Linked DNA regions of Homo sapiens: regions 2 and 3 are each linked to region 1. The links are contacts of gene promoters, found by promoter capture Hi-C in human tissues and cell types (Jung and others, 2019). All regions are on one chromosome and are shown on one strand. The core of a region is centred on a gene start or on the middle of the fragment in contact, and the rest is flanking DNA. Distances in the headings are between cores, read along the strand shown.

Region 1 (4,960 bases), core at 715-3,214:
CACAGATACAGGGGGGAGAAGAAATACTTTCATATCTTGTGCTGTTTCGTGACTAACGTCTTCCAGCTTCCCAAATGAAAGGGAACCTTCAATAACAGCTTTCTTAAAAATGAGAGAGAGAAGGCCTTTGCAGAAATGGAATGGCTCTCTGCCGGTTACAGTCGGCTGGGAACTGACCTGTGAACTGACCTGGCTACGGTGGGTACTGCTCTACTCATCAGAGGTCCTGTGGTGCTTTGAACGTTAGCATGCTGGTCTGCTTGGTTAGCTGATTATGCCAGGAGGTAAGGCCAACGCTGTGGGTTCTTAAGGCATGAGAGCCAGCTATCATTAAAACCCCCTTCCTTCCTCCTCCAACAATGACACCACTACAGAAATCATTTCTGATGACTTCTCTATCAGCTCTCCACACATGTTAAGCTGCAAAACTAAGGGATACTTGGCAAAGGCCTGTGGATGTCATATTATCATTGGCTGAAAAGTACAAAACCAAATGAAAGAAGCCCCTCAACTGCAGGTTCTTCCAAGGTGGGTCTGTAGCTCATTTCCAGGAATCTGAGTCAGGCTGTGCTTTGAATCATCACTCATAATCAGTCATAGCGCTAGTGAAGCATCTCAGGTTCAGACCTGAAGGACATGGTCTATAGATTCAGCATTCTTCCTGTTTGGAATCTGAGAGTTTGGGGAGTGCAAAAACTATTATTAAGAAAGAGGACTGAATCCTTACGCTTACACTTTAACCATTTAACATATGAGACTCTCAGGATCAAAGTTCACCTGTAATTGGTAATTTGGAAATTCAGACCTTATCAAAATGGCATGAGTTTAGAGCATTCAATTTACATGAAATGACTGCCAAGGTGTTTCTCAATTAGCTAACACATAGACAACTACAGGTGGAGGAAAAAACAAGTAAAAGTAGGAACTTTTTACAAGTTTTCTGAGGTTTTGCTCTCTGGTTAAGAAATGAGCAACTCTCCTTAGAGACAACGCCTGAGTTTAATATGCCTCCCACCCCCAACTCTATCAGGGGAAAGCCATTAGGATGATGTAAACAGAGGGTGATTATCTAGAAGCAGCCCTTGTTTTCTGCACGTGAGAAGCAACAAGTGTCCTTTAAAGGCGAGCACAGAACAAAACGCCCAGACCTCCACAGGCAGGTTTCCAAAACTAGCTACACAGGGGGTTTCCCCAAACACCTCAGTCCCTCACACCGAGTGCCCTTGGCTACCCTTGGCATACCCAGACCCAGATGTGGGGGAGGAAAAGCAAGCCAGTAAGAAAAGGCTGTGGAGCCAACTTCACAAGAAGGCGCTGGAGCAAGCCACAGAGCTTGGCGTTCCTCAAAGTTCTTGCATGCCTGGGGAAAAGGGGTCACCCAGGGAAAACTATTGGGCTTCCTCTTCCTAAAACTCCGAATCCTAAACCCTAACGTGGAGAGGTGAAGTTCCCCGAACTCTACACGTGTCCGCAGCGCACCCCTCACGGAAGGCGCCCGCCTCCCCGCGCGCCCTGGGGCAAGTGGGTGCCAGCCCCTGCTGCGACGGGTCGCCCAAGCTGCAGGGCGGTCGGGCCAGAACGTTCCCAGCTCTCGTCTTCTCCCGACCGAGGGGCCCAGGCAGCGTCTCCGCCATCCCCGCACCCGCCCCAGTCCCAGTCCCCGATAAGAAAGACTTGCACCGACCGTGGAGCTCGGCGTGCGCAGACAGCTGCCGGGTCCGCGCGGCGCCTGGGCCAGAGGAAGCCGGAGCCGGCGAGGGTGGGTGGCGCGGAGGGTGGCCGGTGTCCCGGGCTCCGGCGCGGCGGCGGCTTCGGCTGCACAGCTTCCCCGGCTTCAGAAAACCTCCTGGGCACTGCTTCTCCCGGGGAGGTCTCGCTGGGACCCCAATCCCCGGCGACGACCGGGTGGGATGGATGAAGCCTCTCCACCGCCTCTCCACAATCGTCAGACCAGCGGGATGACTGTACGCGCGCGCGAGGGCTCGCACGAAAAAGAAAACTCCGGAGGAACACGCCTCCAGTCTGTCCTCCCCGTCTCCTCCCAAAGCTCCAGACCTTCCACTCCACTCTGGGACCGCAAGAGCGTCCTAACCTTCCAGCTATCCTGGGACGCGGCCACTAAAAAGCACAAAGCTGCCGCCCCCTTCCAGGCCCTGAAGGGCAGGAGTCTTTTTTAACTATTTCCTTCCTGAAAGAAAAGGTGGGGGATGTGGAGGAGAGAGGGTAGAGTTTGACAGACAAGACTCAGAATTCCGAAAGGCCTTGCAGAGGAACCCATCCTCTTAGTGCAGGCAGATTTGATCTGTGACGGAACAACTGGACACAGAGCCAGGGCCCACGGGTGGTTTCTTCTCCGTCTTCCCTGCCGCCTTTGCTTGGCTTGCGTGCTCCCTCTTAAGCTTAGAGGCCGTTGAGGAGCCGAAGTGGACAGCAGTTTACTGGATCAGGTGGTTTGCTTCTATCTTGTCCCTTGTAGCCAGCATCCCACGGCTACAGACCTCCAGCCCAGGGCAAAGAAGGAGCCTCAGGAGAGACTATGGAAGGTTCCAGCGCGTGGCTCCGTGAAACCTCAAGAAATTCAAACAATGAAGAAGCCGACCTTACAGAAAGTGGGTCTCAACGTCTTTATCACGGCAGATACTTTATCCTAAATTGGGGGTGGGAGAGGAGATGAGGGACAAAGGCCACTGCCTGTGACATGTGAGTAAAAACTGGGGTCTCCTCAGGGAAGGCCTGCCTTGGAGTCCTTCAGTGCACTGCTAGAGTCAGCACATGGTAGAAGTGTGAGGTTGGAGCACTGGTCATGTTATATCCCATGCTGTTCCGGCTATCTGCTGCAGCTAAACAAATTACTATAAAACGTAGTGGCTTAAAATAACAACACTCATTTACTCTGCTTATCAGTCTGCAGTTTGGGCAGAGCCTGTCTGGGACAGCTCGTTTTTGCTCCATGTAGCAGGGGCTGGAGGATCCACTTCCAAGACAGTTCACTTGCTTGGTGTTGAGTGTTAGTTTTTCTCCACGTGCGTCTCTCCACAAAGACTTGTGGAGACTTGTGGTTTGGGCTTCCTCACAGCATGGTGGCGGGGATCCAAGAGTGAATGTCCCCAGAGACAGAAAGTGGAAGCTGCCAGTTTCTTAAGGGCTGGGCCCAGAAACTGGCACCGTGTCATTTCTGCTTGATTCTATTAGTCAAGCAGTCACAAATCCCAGATTGAAGGTGAGGGTATATAGAGCCCAACCCTTAGTGTGAGGAGTGTCAAAGAATTTAGGGACCATTTTGTAAAACCATCAAAGAGATCTACAGAAAACCACCATTGAAAGAGGCCTTAATAGTCATCTAGTAGGGTTAGACTAGATATTACCCTGTTCACTAATCTTACAGCTTCTCTAGGAGGGAGAATCAGCCAACCAGAATAACTAATAGCTTTTATAAGTGCCATTGTTTATATTAAAAAAAGGTGACCCTTTGGGCATGTGGCTTGGCAAGCTGACAATATTTTCGGGAAAGAAAAACTTACTGCTTCCTCCCAAAAGAGGCAGTTCACATCTTGGCCCGTGAAACATGTGCTGGATTTCAGCCCTTATTCACTCTGTGGCCAGACACACTTGGACAGTGCATCACCTGCATATCTGAATATGTCAATCTGTCCAGTCTTTGCTAGAACACATTCATCATGACCCACCTATTGAGACAGCTGATCTCACTGTGGTGTAGGACTAGTTACTAAAAATTCTTCCTTCACACCTATTAGGATAGCCATTATAGTAAAACAAAAGCAAAAACAGCAAAGAACAAGTGTTGGCAAGAATGTTGAGAAATTGGAACCCTTGTGCATTGCCAGTCTGAATGTAAAATATAGTGTAGCAGTTGTGGAAAACAGCATGGCAGCCCTCCAAAAATTAAACATAAAATTACCCTATGATCCAGCAATTCTACTTTTTGGTACTTACCTAAATAATTGAAAGCAGAGTCTCAAACAGATATTTGTACACCCATATTCATAGCAGCATTATTCAGAAAAGCCAAAAGGTGAAAACTAGCCAAAAGATGGAAACAATCCAAATATCCATCAGTGGAAGAATGGATAAACAAAATGTGGTATATACATGTATGTATATGTATATAAATACATGTACATAACACAGAACATTATTCAGCTTTAAAAAAGAATGATATATGCTACCACATGGATGAACGTTTAAGATATTATGTTAAGTGAAATAAGCCAGACATAAAAGGAAAGATAGATATTTTATTATCCCACTTAGATGAGGTACCTAGAATAGTTAAATTCATAGACACCGAAGGTAGAATAGTGATTACCAGGGGCTTGGAGGTGCCGAGGGGAGAATGGGGACTTACTGTTTCATACGTTTCAGAGATTTAGTTTGGGATGATGAAAAAGTTCCAGTGACGGATGGTGATGAGGGTTGCACAACAATGTGAATGTACTTAATGCCAATGAACTGTACACTTTGAAATGGTTAAAATGGTAAATTTATGTTATGTATCTTTTACCGTAATCAATTCTTCCTGACATCAAAATGAAATCTGCCTCTATACGTTACCTGTTGATCTGCCCTCTAAATTCATAAAATGAGTTTACTGTCTCTTTTAAGATCTTTAAACATAAGTAAGTGTATTTATGTGAATAATCAGCATAGACCTGCCTTTGTAAGAGAATAGGATTGCCTCATTCTAGATGAGAACAACATAAATGTTCTTTAGCTGTTGGAGATTTATATCCTCATTTTCTCAGCTTTACTTGGGGCAAATGACTTCAGGGGACTCGAACCAGTTTTTAGTCAAGTTAACTTTACCTCCAGTTACCTTTCTCCCCATAGATAATACTTTATATACTTGCCCCAACTCTATATTCCATGCTTTTTACTTTCAAAGAACATATAATTAATATATTTGACTAAGCTTTTCAACTTGACTTCCAAAGGTTATTTC
Region 2 (4,960 bases), core at 723-3,222, 200 kb after region 1:
CTTAAAATAACACCACATTTACTCATTTCCTTGTAAAGTGTGTATGTGTATGTGTGTCTGTGTGAGAGAGAGACAGAGACAGAGAATGTGCACCTGCCTGTGTGAGGAGATTAAGACAGATGCTGAGTTTGCTATGGGGCTGATGTGACTCAGAGCAGAGGCAGCTCCTGTAAGATGTCGAGATGATCAGTAGATTGAAGAAGTAGTAGGCTGTAGCCAGAGGTGATCTATAACCTATCAGTCCCTACACCTCACGCCTTCCTTCAGTGGAATTTATAGTTATTTTGGAGAAGGATTTGGGCCTGCACAGGACATGAAAATGGAGCTTTGAATCAATCATACCTTGTTTTCTGAGGGCCAGAGAGGCCTCAGCTAACATCTGGGTTACTTTTTCTTATGGTTCTCATCTACTTTTGTGTTTATTCTTAAGTCTTTACATCTGGTAAGCAGATGGCAATACACTTCTTCAAATCGCAACCTTGAGAGCCTCCTGTCTTCTCCTCCTGAATTATTTGGTTACTATATGGAGGTAACAGTTCCTTGCTACAGGTCATTTTTATTCTGACCCCCAGGTGAAGCTTGGATATTCTTAAGACTCTGGGAAGTGGGGGCCGCCCCAGCTGCCCTATATTTGAGGAAGACCAGGAGGACAGTGCTTTGACAATTCTGGGCTGACTGGAGAATGAGAGATGTTGTGGGGCCCCATGAGCATCAGGCCTGCAACGTCCTGTCACCATCTCTGCTGCAAATTCATCTTGTTATCCTCTTTCTCCATAAAAGTCTGTGAGCCTGTGAGGGGAGGGAAGGAAGAAACATCTGCCTTGGGATTTAAGGCCAACAGGCCTGTTTCCTGTCCCCTCTTCCTTGGTTGCCCCTTTGGTCTCCATGCAGATGCATTGCTCTATGAATTTATTTGTCGTTTCCAGCCTTGACTGGTTCAGAATGCTTTTAACCATTAGAAAAAGAAACAACTAGTTAAAGGATTTAATTAAAAGCTAATGATATACTTCAATGTGGTGCTAATTAGAGACATGGAGCTTGTTGTTCCTTAACATCTTGTTCACCAAGAGGACATTAACTTATGAAAAGTTGGAGAGATTAAGCATGGAAACCTTTGATGGTGGTGATGGCGGTAGTTCTGATTGGTGAATCAGACCAATCTTGCCTTCAGGAATCCTACATAGAGTTTGGTGGTTCTCCAGAGACTAAGTTCAACTACTGATGCAGTTTCATATACTGAGTTCCTTCTCAGGGTAAAAATGTCTTTCCCAAGCACTGAAAATTTATGTCAGAAATGGAGTCTTGGCATGTTCTAGAAAATGGAGAGTGCCTCATGAGAGCTGCTGGAGCAAGGCATTCTTTTTCCTGCTCCTGGTATGCCCCACTCTTCCCCTTCCCTGCTGATTTTCATATAGCTTCTCCCCACTTGCCGAGAATACGTTTTCAGGATGGTTATGACTTCTCTACACACAAAAGGGCAGACATGTGAGCACTGGGTTCCACAGTTACTGTCAGTGCTGGGCATCGTACCAACACCAACAGAATCCCCATCTGGGTTCTTCTCAGAGGTTATGCAGTCCTGATTCAACAGACAATAAACAATAGGGAACAAGGATAATGGCCATTGGAGTTGCAAAAGAAGTGCCTGTTTTCATTATTTATACTCTCTGGCACTCCCTTATGGCTCCTTTATTCAAACATCGGTAGACTGAAACAAAAAAGGATTCTTGGAAGAAATAATTATTTAAAAAATGATGAAAAGCATTTCTACTAATTCTGTAAACTTGCTAAAATAATAAATTATTGGAAGAATATTGGGTAATGTAAAGGATTGGTGGAAGAACCGAACCACTAAGCCTGGGGAAATCAGAAAATAGAGGCCTTGTCTTTATTTGGGATTTCAAATTCCAGATGAGAGAATTTGATTGGACCAGACAGGGTGTGTTGTGCCTACTTTGGTTCTAACCATCCACATTGTCAGGAGATCGGACAGGGAGCGTAGCTGCTGTGATTGGGAGAATCCTGGTGAGTTGGGCAGCCTCTTGCAACATGTATGTTCTGCATTGGTCAATCATAATTTTAATCAAGTTAGCGGCTATTAAATGGAATGTGCCTAAACTTAATGCCCTGCATTATCTTGCTTGAAACATGAATAATCTGTTACCAAACTAGGGAAAAAACATAACATCCTCTAGGCAAGAATGGTAGTTCTTAAACTGTGGTCTCCAGACCATCAGCATGGACATGATGGAGAACTTGTTGGAAATACAAATTGTTTTTCCCATTCCAGATCTAGTGAATTCCTGGTGAGACACAAAAAGCATGTTTTAACAAATACTCTAGATGATTCTGATACATGCAAAAATTTAACGTGTATGAATCACCTAGGGGTGTTGTTACAGTACATATTCTTTTTTAGTAGGTCTAGGGTAAGGCTGATACTCTGCATTTCTAACAAATTTCCAGGTTACCCCATTGGTGCTGATGCAGGGACAGACTTTGAGTAGCAAAAATAAAGATATTGAAGGAGAAAACTTATATCACTATTTCAAACTGTTGAAATTCTGTAGACAAAAGAGCAATGAAAACCTTAAAGTCCTGTATGAATAAATTATTATTATTGCTATTGGATGATACTAGTTTTCATAAATCTTCAGAACATTGTGTATTTTGGGGGTAGAGGGGACTCTTATCTTCAACTGGCAGGTCTGAAGACAGGATTGGTTATAAAGTTTATGTAGCAAGTCACCTTTAAGTCAAGTATATAAATGCCCCATTTGTCTTAATCTCAACATATAATAGCGTGTAGCAAGAGTAGTATTTATATCTCCAGCTATCACTTGTCTCGTTCATGACAGAAATAACGTTCCACATTATTTAAAAATTATAACTCAAAGCATAATGCTAATGAAGTTGCCAAGCTATGACCCAAAAGAAGGCAGAGCCTGGCCAGATGGCTCAAGTTACTGATTACAACTTGTTGGGTCTTTCCTGGCCCAGATTGATCTTATCTAGTGTTTTTAATCTCTGGCTATTTGGTGAATAATCATGAAAGCTTTTGAGCATCTGGTTCAATTTCCAGCAATTTGCTATTAGTGATACTCAAATCTGATTGCAGTGATTTGGCAATGACTTAATGGGAGTAGGGAAAGATTATCTAACTGGGTTTATGAACCTTGCTAGCTAGGGGTCTCTTAGATTATGTTTGCCAATATTTTCCTTTCATTTCATTGCTGTTATTATCAGATGACTGTGTTTCTTGGAGTTTTTGCTTTTGAAGATTATAGATACTTTCATTTCACCTAATGCATTAAAAAAATTTAAGAGGACCTCCTCCACACAAAAATCTCCCACTAGGTCAACATTAATGTACATAAAAAGATCTCTCATCATAACTAAAATTAAAACAAGAACTAAGACTTACTGACAGAGTAATTCTGTTGTATTCCTCAGAGAGGCCAAATAAACCTGAGAATAAAGACAAACAAGGGAACATAATTTATTTAGTCTTTCAAAATTTATCATAAAACTTAGTAGGAAAGAGAATTAAATCATTAGTAATTGAGGAGTTCCCCCTTTCCATAAAGTCCTTGCTTGCAATCAAGAAATGAAGAGCAGAGATATGTAGGCATTTTTCTGGAGAAAGAAACACTGATATTGTGACATCCAAAGATTTATTTCTGATAGGTGTCTAAGTTAACATTTTTATAAATAATCTGAATGGATAATTATACATAGTTAAATGGTAGATAATGACTAGGATAATAATATGAGAGAAACTAATGGCTGTTTCAAACTTGAGCTTAAGGTATAATTGCATCTTGGTTGAGTTCTGAATATCAGTGTCTGATCTCTCAGCTTCCAGGTTGGAAGTCTTGGTTGCCTTTTTATTAAGAGAAAATTTCTAGGAAAATGGCTTCCTTACTTGAAAAAGGCTCACTAAAGGTAAGAGAATGTGTATACTTAACATTTTTTTTATTGACGTATATTTAACACAAAGATTTAAGGTATACAATTTGATGATTTAATACACACATACGTTGTAAAATAATCAGCACACACTAATTAACACAGCAATCACTTTAGATAGTTACCACTTAAACGTTTGTATGTGTGTGTATGACAAAAATACTTAGTGTCTCCCCTCTTGGCAAATTTCAAATATACAATAAACTATTGTTAATTATACTCATATTATTGTACATTCGATCTCCAGAATGTATTCTTCCAGCATAATTGAAACTTTGTACCCCCAACCAACATCTCCCCATTTTTCTCTCCCCTCACCCCTGGCAAACACTATTCTATTCTCTGTTTCTATGACTTCAACTATTTTAGATTCCCTCTTTTTAAGGCTGAATAATATTCCATTGTGTGGAGTGTTTGTATGTGTGTGTGTGTGTATAGCCCCCACATTTTCCTTTATTCATTCATCATTTCCATACTTTGAGTATTGTAAATAATGTGGAAATTAACATGGGAATGCAGATATCTCTTGGAGAGCCTGATTTCATTTCCTTTGGATGTATACGCAGTAGTCAGGTTACTAGATCTTTTTATTTTTTGAGGAACCTCCTACTGTTTTCCATAATGGTTGTACCAATTCACATTCCCAGAAACAGTATATAAGAGTTTCCTTTTTTCCACAGCCTCTCCAACACTTGCTATCTTTGGTCTTTCTGATAATAGCCATTCTAACAGATGTGAGGTGATAACTCAGTTTTGATTTGAATTTCCTTGATGATTAGCAATGTTGAGGGCATTTTCATAAACTTGTTTGCCATTTGTATGTTTTCTTTTGGGAAATGTCTATTTAGATCCTTTGCTAATTTTTGAAACAGGATGTTTTTCATTATTGAGTTGTGTGAGTTCCTTATATATATTGGATATTAACCCCTTATCCTTCTCGCAGTTTTTCAGTTTCAGGTCTTACATTGAAGTCTTCAATCCATTTTGAGTT
Region 3 (4,960 bases), core at 954-3,453, 150 kb after region 1:
GATAGAAAGTCTTTTATAACTGGGCTCATGCATCAAAAAACATTAAGATGAAGTTTAGGGCCACCCTGTATTAACTGGCATCAAATAGTCTAAATTTATAAACTAATACTGAAAATCTGGAATTGCATCAGAACTGTATTATGGTATAGGCAAGAAACCTCTGAATTAATGCTGTCCTTAAACAAGTTTCATTGATGAATGTGTTTGCAAATGGAAGTCAACTCTGGTCAATAATTAGAAAGATAACTCTTGATATTTTACAGAGTAACTGTTAACTAAGTTTATTATGTCTTAATAATTATAAAGATCACATGAAGTGCAAGAAAACATTCATTCATTCAACAAATATTTATTATTGAGTGCCTACTATGTTCCAGGCACTTCTCCAGGTCAATGAAATGCAGCAAGAACAAACTATATCTTAGCATGTTCTCTTTAAGAACAAATTGTACGATGGCAAAGGGCTGTGCAAAATCTCATTAAGAAGAAGTGACTGACATCATTGGGAATTAGTGTTGGTCTGGCTACAGGAAATTGTGAACAGATTGCTCATGGTGTTTTCTGAACAACTAGGAGCTTCAAAAAGGGGAAGCAGTGTCACGTATTTAATCTAGATTCAGCTGTTATAGCAGTTTACTTCAAGGCTGGAAATGTTCTTTTTCTCTAAGGAAATTGGGATGCACTGAACTAGGCTAATTGAACTCACTTCTCACTCAGCCACAGGTGTTCCCTTTGGTGGAACTGACCTCTCTCTTCTTTTCTCTCCGTAGGATCAGGGGAGACTTAGCCAGGCATAGTGAGTTGTTATTAATAAGACCAGAGAATAATTATATACAGAATTGACAAAGGCTATTGGCAGTCTTAGAAATTAAGGAAAAACTACATTTCAATCAGATTTGATAAGGCAAGATACAGTAAAAATTAATTTCTGGGACAAAATGGAAGGGATTTTGGATGTGCAATCTAGATCAGTGGTTCTAAAACTTGGATGGGCATCTATATCACCTGTTGAACTCACTAGATTGTAGGTGCTTCAACTCAACCACTGTGATTCCAATGCACACCGGTTTGAGAAACATGCGCCCAGGTATTAAAATCCATTTGGTGATGAACTCCCCACCATACTTTCTCAAGGATTTCTAGAGTCATTGGGTGAGACAACGATGTTTTTTTTAATGGTGCCTGTAGTAGATTCCTAATTTCTAAAAACCCATATAACAAATAAAAGCAAAAATAATCACAAAATTACAACATGGTAAATTCTTACTGGTTAGTAGATTATATTATCTAAGGAAGTCATCTATGACTACAGGGGCTATGGTTCAATCCTAGATCAAGTATTCCTTTGATTAATTGGGAAACACTGTAAAATTTGTCTTTTTATTGTTTTCCAAGCACTACAATTTAGTGTCTGGGGCCTGAACCTTTGCATCATTGACTATGGGGATAGAGATCTTTAAAACTTAAAAGAGCTTTTACTTAAAATGTATACCAACAGTGTATGAAATCAAGTGAATCAACTAACAGTGTGGAGATGTGAACTGGGTTAATGGGGTTGTTACCGCTATTTGGTAAAGAATGACTTTAAGACTGAAATCCAAAGACAGTCTTGTGGGTTTTTTTGTCTCTCCTTTGAGTGTTACTCAATTTAATGTATTTCCTGACAAAACCAAATCCCATTAAGAATGCTATATTATATAAACCCTTGGTTAGACATGGTTGCAAAGATTTCTTTCTGAAAGATGGTAGAAACAATTTTTCCTTTGATGTTGTCTCTCAGCATTCTGAATTTGATTTGTGAAGGTATTTTGTGCAGCACATCAATCTTTGCTAAAATTCTTCAAGTTTCTCTTTGCAAAAACCAGCAGAAATTTACCAGAGTAAATTATGAAACATTGCTGCAGTTGACTCCAACAAACCAGAGTTCCACAACAAAATGAATGTACAATACAAAAAATAAAATTTAGTGGGCCTTGTTATTGTTTTACATATAGTTTGGCCTGAAGGAAAAGTGAAACTAAGTTATAAATTAAGTTGTATATCATCTAATAGAATGAGGTTTTGAAGTAGTAATAGAATTTTGAAACTCTCTGAATTCTTGTCTAAAACAAAAATCATCCCTTCTTTTTGCTGTATTCTCTTGAATCAGAAGCCTATGTTTACCAGCTGCTCTAAGTCACTCTTTCCTTTATTGCAGTGTTTGACACTATAATACCTTAAAGTGGGGGTTGCTTATCTTGGGAGTGGTGGTAAATGTTGAGTGAATGTGGGAAGGAATTATAGATGTTTAACAACTGTTTGCAAAGGTTCCAGGGTTCTTGGGAGGGAACAGGAAATATTAATTTTATACTAGCTCCCAAAGCCAAAAGGAAGAAGAAAAAAAAGAAGCTTCTTAATCTGTTTAGATTACCTCTAAGGAGATGAGTCATGAGTGAAATTCAGGATTAATATACAAGAAGAGCTCCTAAGAGACCGTCTAGACTACAGGCCATCTTTCTCTTTCACAGAACTCCTCCTGAATTTTTTTTTTAAGAGAGGAAGTTCTCTGCCATATTTTAAATACTTAGAAGAAAAGGGAATTAAGGAACTGAGTAATCAGCCCAGTATCTAATAGACTTCATCATCAAAATAATGTTCTTTGATTTGTTTTAACTTCTCTGATGGCAATTTGCATTTTCTTAGGATGTGTACACTCAGATATATTACAATTGGATTTATATAGTTTATTTTTCTGCCTATTTAAAAAATTTGGTCAAAAGTCATTTTTAATTGTAAACCTTTGCAAAATCACTATTCTATGTCTTAACACTTCAAGGCCTATGTTAATTTAGCTATGGTAGTTCTCTAAGTCATCAACACAGATATCCCTTTCTATTGTCATTGATACATTTTAAACTACTATTGGGAATTTTTCTTAGCAATATGATTTTATGTCTTCCATATATCTTTTAGGGTAGTTATGAAAAATGTAAACATATAATTCAGCTAAGATGGCCCAGTTAGTGAGGGATGAATCCTCTGTATATTCCCCCAACTCCAGTGCTACTTAAAAGAAAGGAAAATAGTTAAAAAATTTTGTTTATGCAACTTCTACAAATAATATAAATGAATGCATTGCAGACCCAGCAATTTCATAATATGAGCAATTATGAAAATTTTCTTATGGATATACTGGGACTGGAAGCCGATTGTATTTCCTTTTCCTTATGACTCCCGCTCTACAGGGGATGGCTCACTCACCTCACTGCATTGCAGTGCTTTGGGACAGTAGAATTTGTCCTCAACCAAATTGGCCCCTTAACTCCTGCTACTTTGGAAGCCATTTTCTGCTGTTGTAGAAAATCAGATTTTCCTTGATGAGCACTTTTGCCTGGCTGGAAAGTAGGCGGGACTTCTCCTGGGAATAAGCATTTGTTCTGAGTTGCTTGCTGGGAGGCATGCTTCCTTTGGCTGTCAGATCTCCACCCAGGCATGGGATGAGGCCTTTCCATGGAATGCTTGTTTGCCCCTATTCTGAAGAGGTGCCTGGTAGCTGGGAGGTTCCTGGCTGCTGCTCCTCTTTGCTACAATATTTGATCTCCAAGTAATGCAATCCCCACCCTCACTCTTTGACGAAAGCTTTATGTTCTTTATACACAAAAATGTAAATTGTTTAACAATTTACCACATGAAATACTCACCTATGGAAAACAGCTCTGTAAATTCCAGTATATATATATATATATATATATATATACATTTGTTGAACAATATGCAATCATGAAAAATACTGAGTTTGTAGTAACATGGAAACATGCTTATGTTAGATGAGAAAAGCAGGATGCAAAATTGTATATGCGTTATGCTCACAACTAAGTAAAAAAGGAGGCCTGGTTCCTTCTGAAAAATAAATGCCTAGAAAAAGTCTGAAAGAAAAATTATTAAATTATGGTTGACAAGGAGTAGTAAAACCATTGACAATTCCCCTTTTTCTATGTTGTTTTCAAATTTCTGTAATAGATACGGTATTACCCTAATAGCGTAAATAAAAATTCAATACTTTCCCTTTTAAATGAAGCAAACAAATCCTTATTAGATTCCCTTTTGCTTTCCCATAGCTTGAAATAATAATCCTCCTTCTCTAAGTGATATTGTTGGATGGAAGAAAGAGGAAAAACGGTATGTAAATAAAGGTAACATTTTCATTCAACTAATTTCATCAGAAGCATACAGACTAGTACATATTTAATGAATACCTAAATAATTGAAATGATTTAGTGGAAATATAGCTGTAACTCCTTGAAGTGATTTATCTTTCCAATCTTGGCTAGGACAACAGAAGATACAGTTTTTAAATAAAGCCTTTCCTTGATGTAAATTTAGAAGAGTTGTTGAAGACGTTAACTTGAGTTACTCTATTTTACTAGTGATCATCAATTTACCTAGTGTAAATTCCCTGGTTCAGAGGTGTAGAAATTGAGACTCTGCAAGCAGAATGATTTACCACCATGAGTGGCAGTGCCAGGTCTAGAAGGCACATCTCTGGATTGCAGAAGAGTTCCTTTCTCACTATGACTCTGAGTCTCCCAAAAGCTAAACAAAACCCAAAGTCTTCTTTGGTCTGGAACAGTTTTAGTTCTGCATTGCTGTTTCATCTGACATGCAAAGCATAGGAGCCAAAGAATATGAGAACAGTTTTCCATGTCCACTCTGCCAAAACTAACATGCATTGGCAGTTGAACCACCAAAGCAATTTGGAAGTCTTCAGCACAGGAGCAAGGCCCTCTCTCCAACATAAATCACAGGAACAGCATGGTTGTAGACAATGACCATGCGCAGTTTGCACTGGGGAAAGGGAAGAGAACTTGTACAAGGATATGTCCTAATTGCAAATATCCATACACAGCTAAAAAAAGAGACCTTGTGGGCAACAGCTCCCCAATTTTGTGTGCTTTTTTCCTCCCTTAGAGCTAAGGAGGGG

Evidence for each region. Contacts are between HindIII fragments. The study calls those that stand out against the background at their distance.
Region 2: a contact is called between a fragment that was not itself captured here and the fragment with the promoter of EDNRA in region 1, in 4 of the 25 tissues and cell types used here (dorsolateral prefrontal cortex, heart left ventricle, mesendoderm cells and 1 more).
Region 3: a fragment that was not itself captured here is called in contact with the fragment with the promoter of EDNRA in region 1 in 3 of the 25 tissues and cell types used here (H1 embryonic stem cells, IMR-90 fibroblasts and bladder).

Annotation. Positions count from the first base shown.
Region 1 is chr4:147,478,101-147,483,060 of GRCh38, reverse strand. EDNRA (endothelin receptor type A) reads right to left here and starts at 1,964. Exons shown (of 8, transcript NM_001957.4): 1 at 1,685-1,964. RefSeq lists enhancers at 1,065-1,144, 1,175-1,274. The HindIII fragment of the contact is 3,954 bases long and covers 1-3,665 here.
Region 2 is chr4:147,282,516-147,287,475 of GRCh38, reverse strand. No RefSeq gene overlaps it. Among named protein-coding and RNA genes, the nearest start is that of MIR548G, 60 kb to the left of the region's middle. The HindIII fragment of the contact is 4,986 bases long and covers 1-4,465 here.
Region 3 is chr4:147,332,045-147,337,004 of GRCh38, reverse strand. No RefSeq gene overlaps it. Among named protein-coding and RNA genes, the nearest start is that of MIR548G, 10 kb to the left of the region's middle. The HindIII fragment of the contact is 4,524 bases long and covers 1-4,465 here.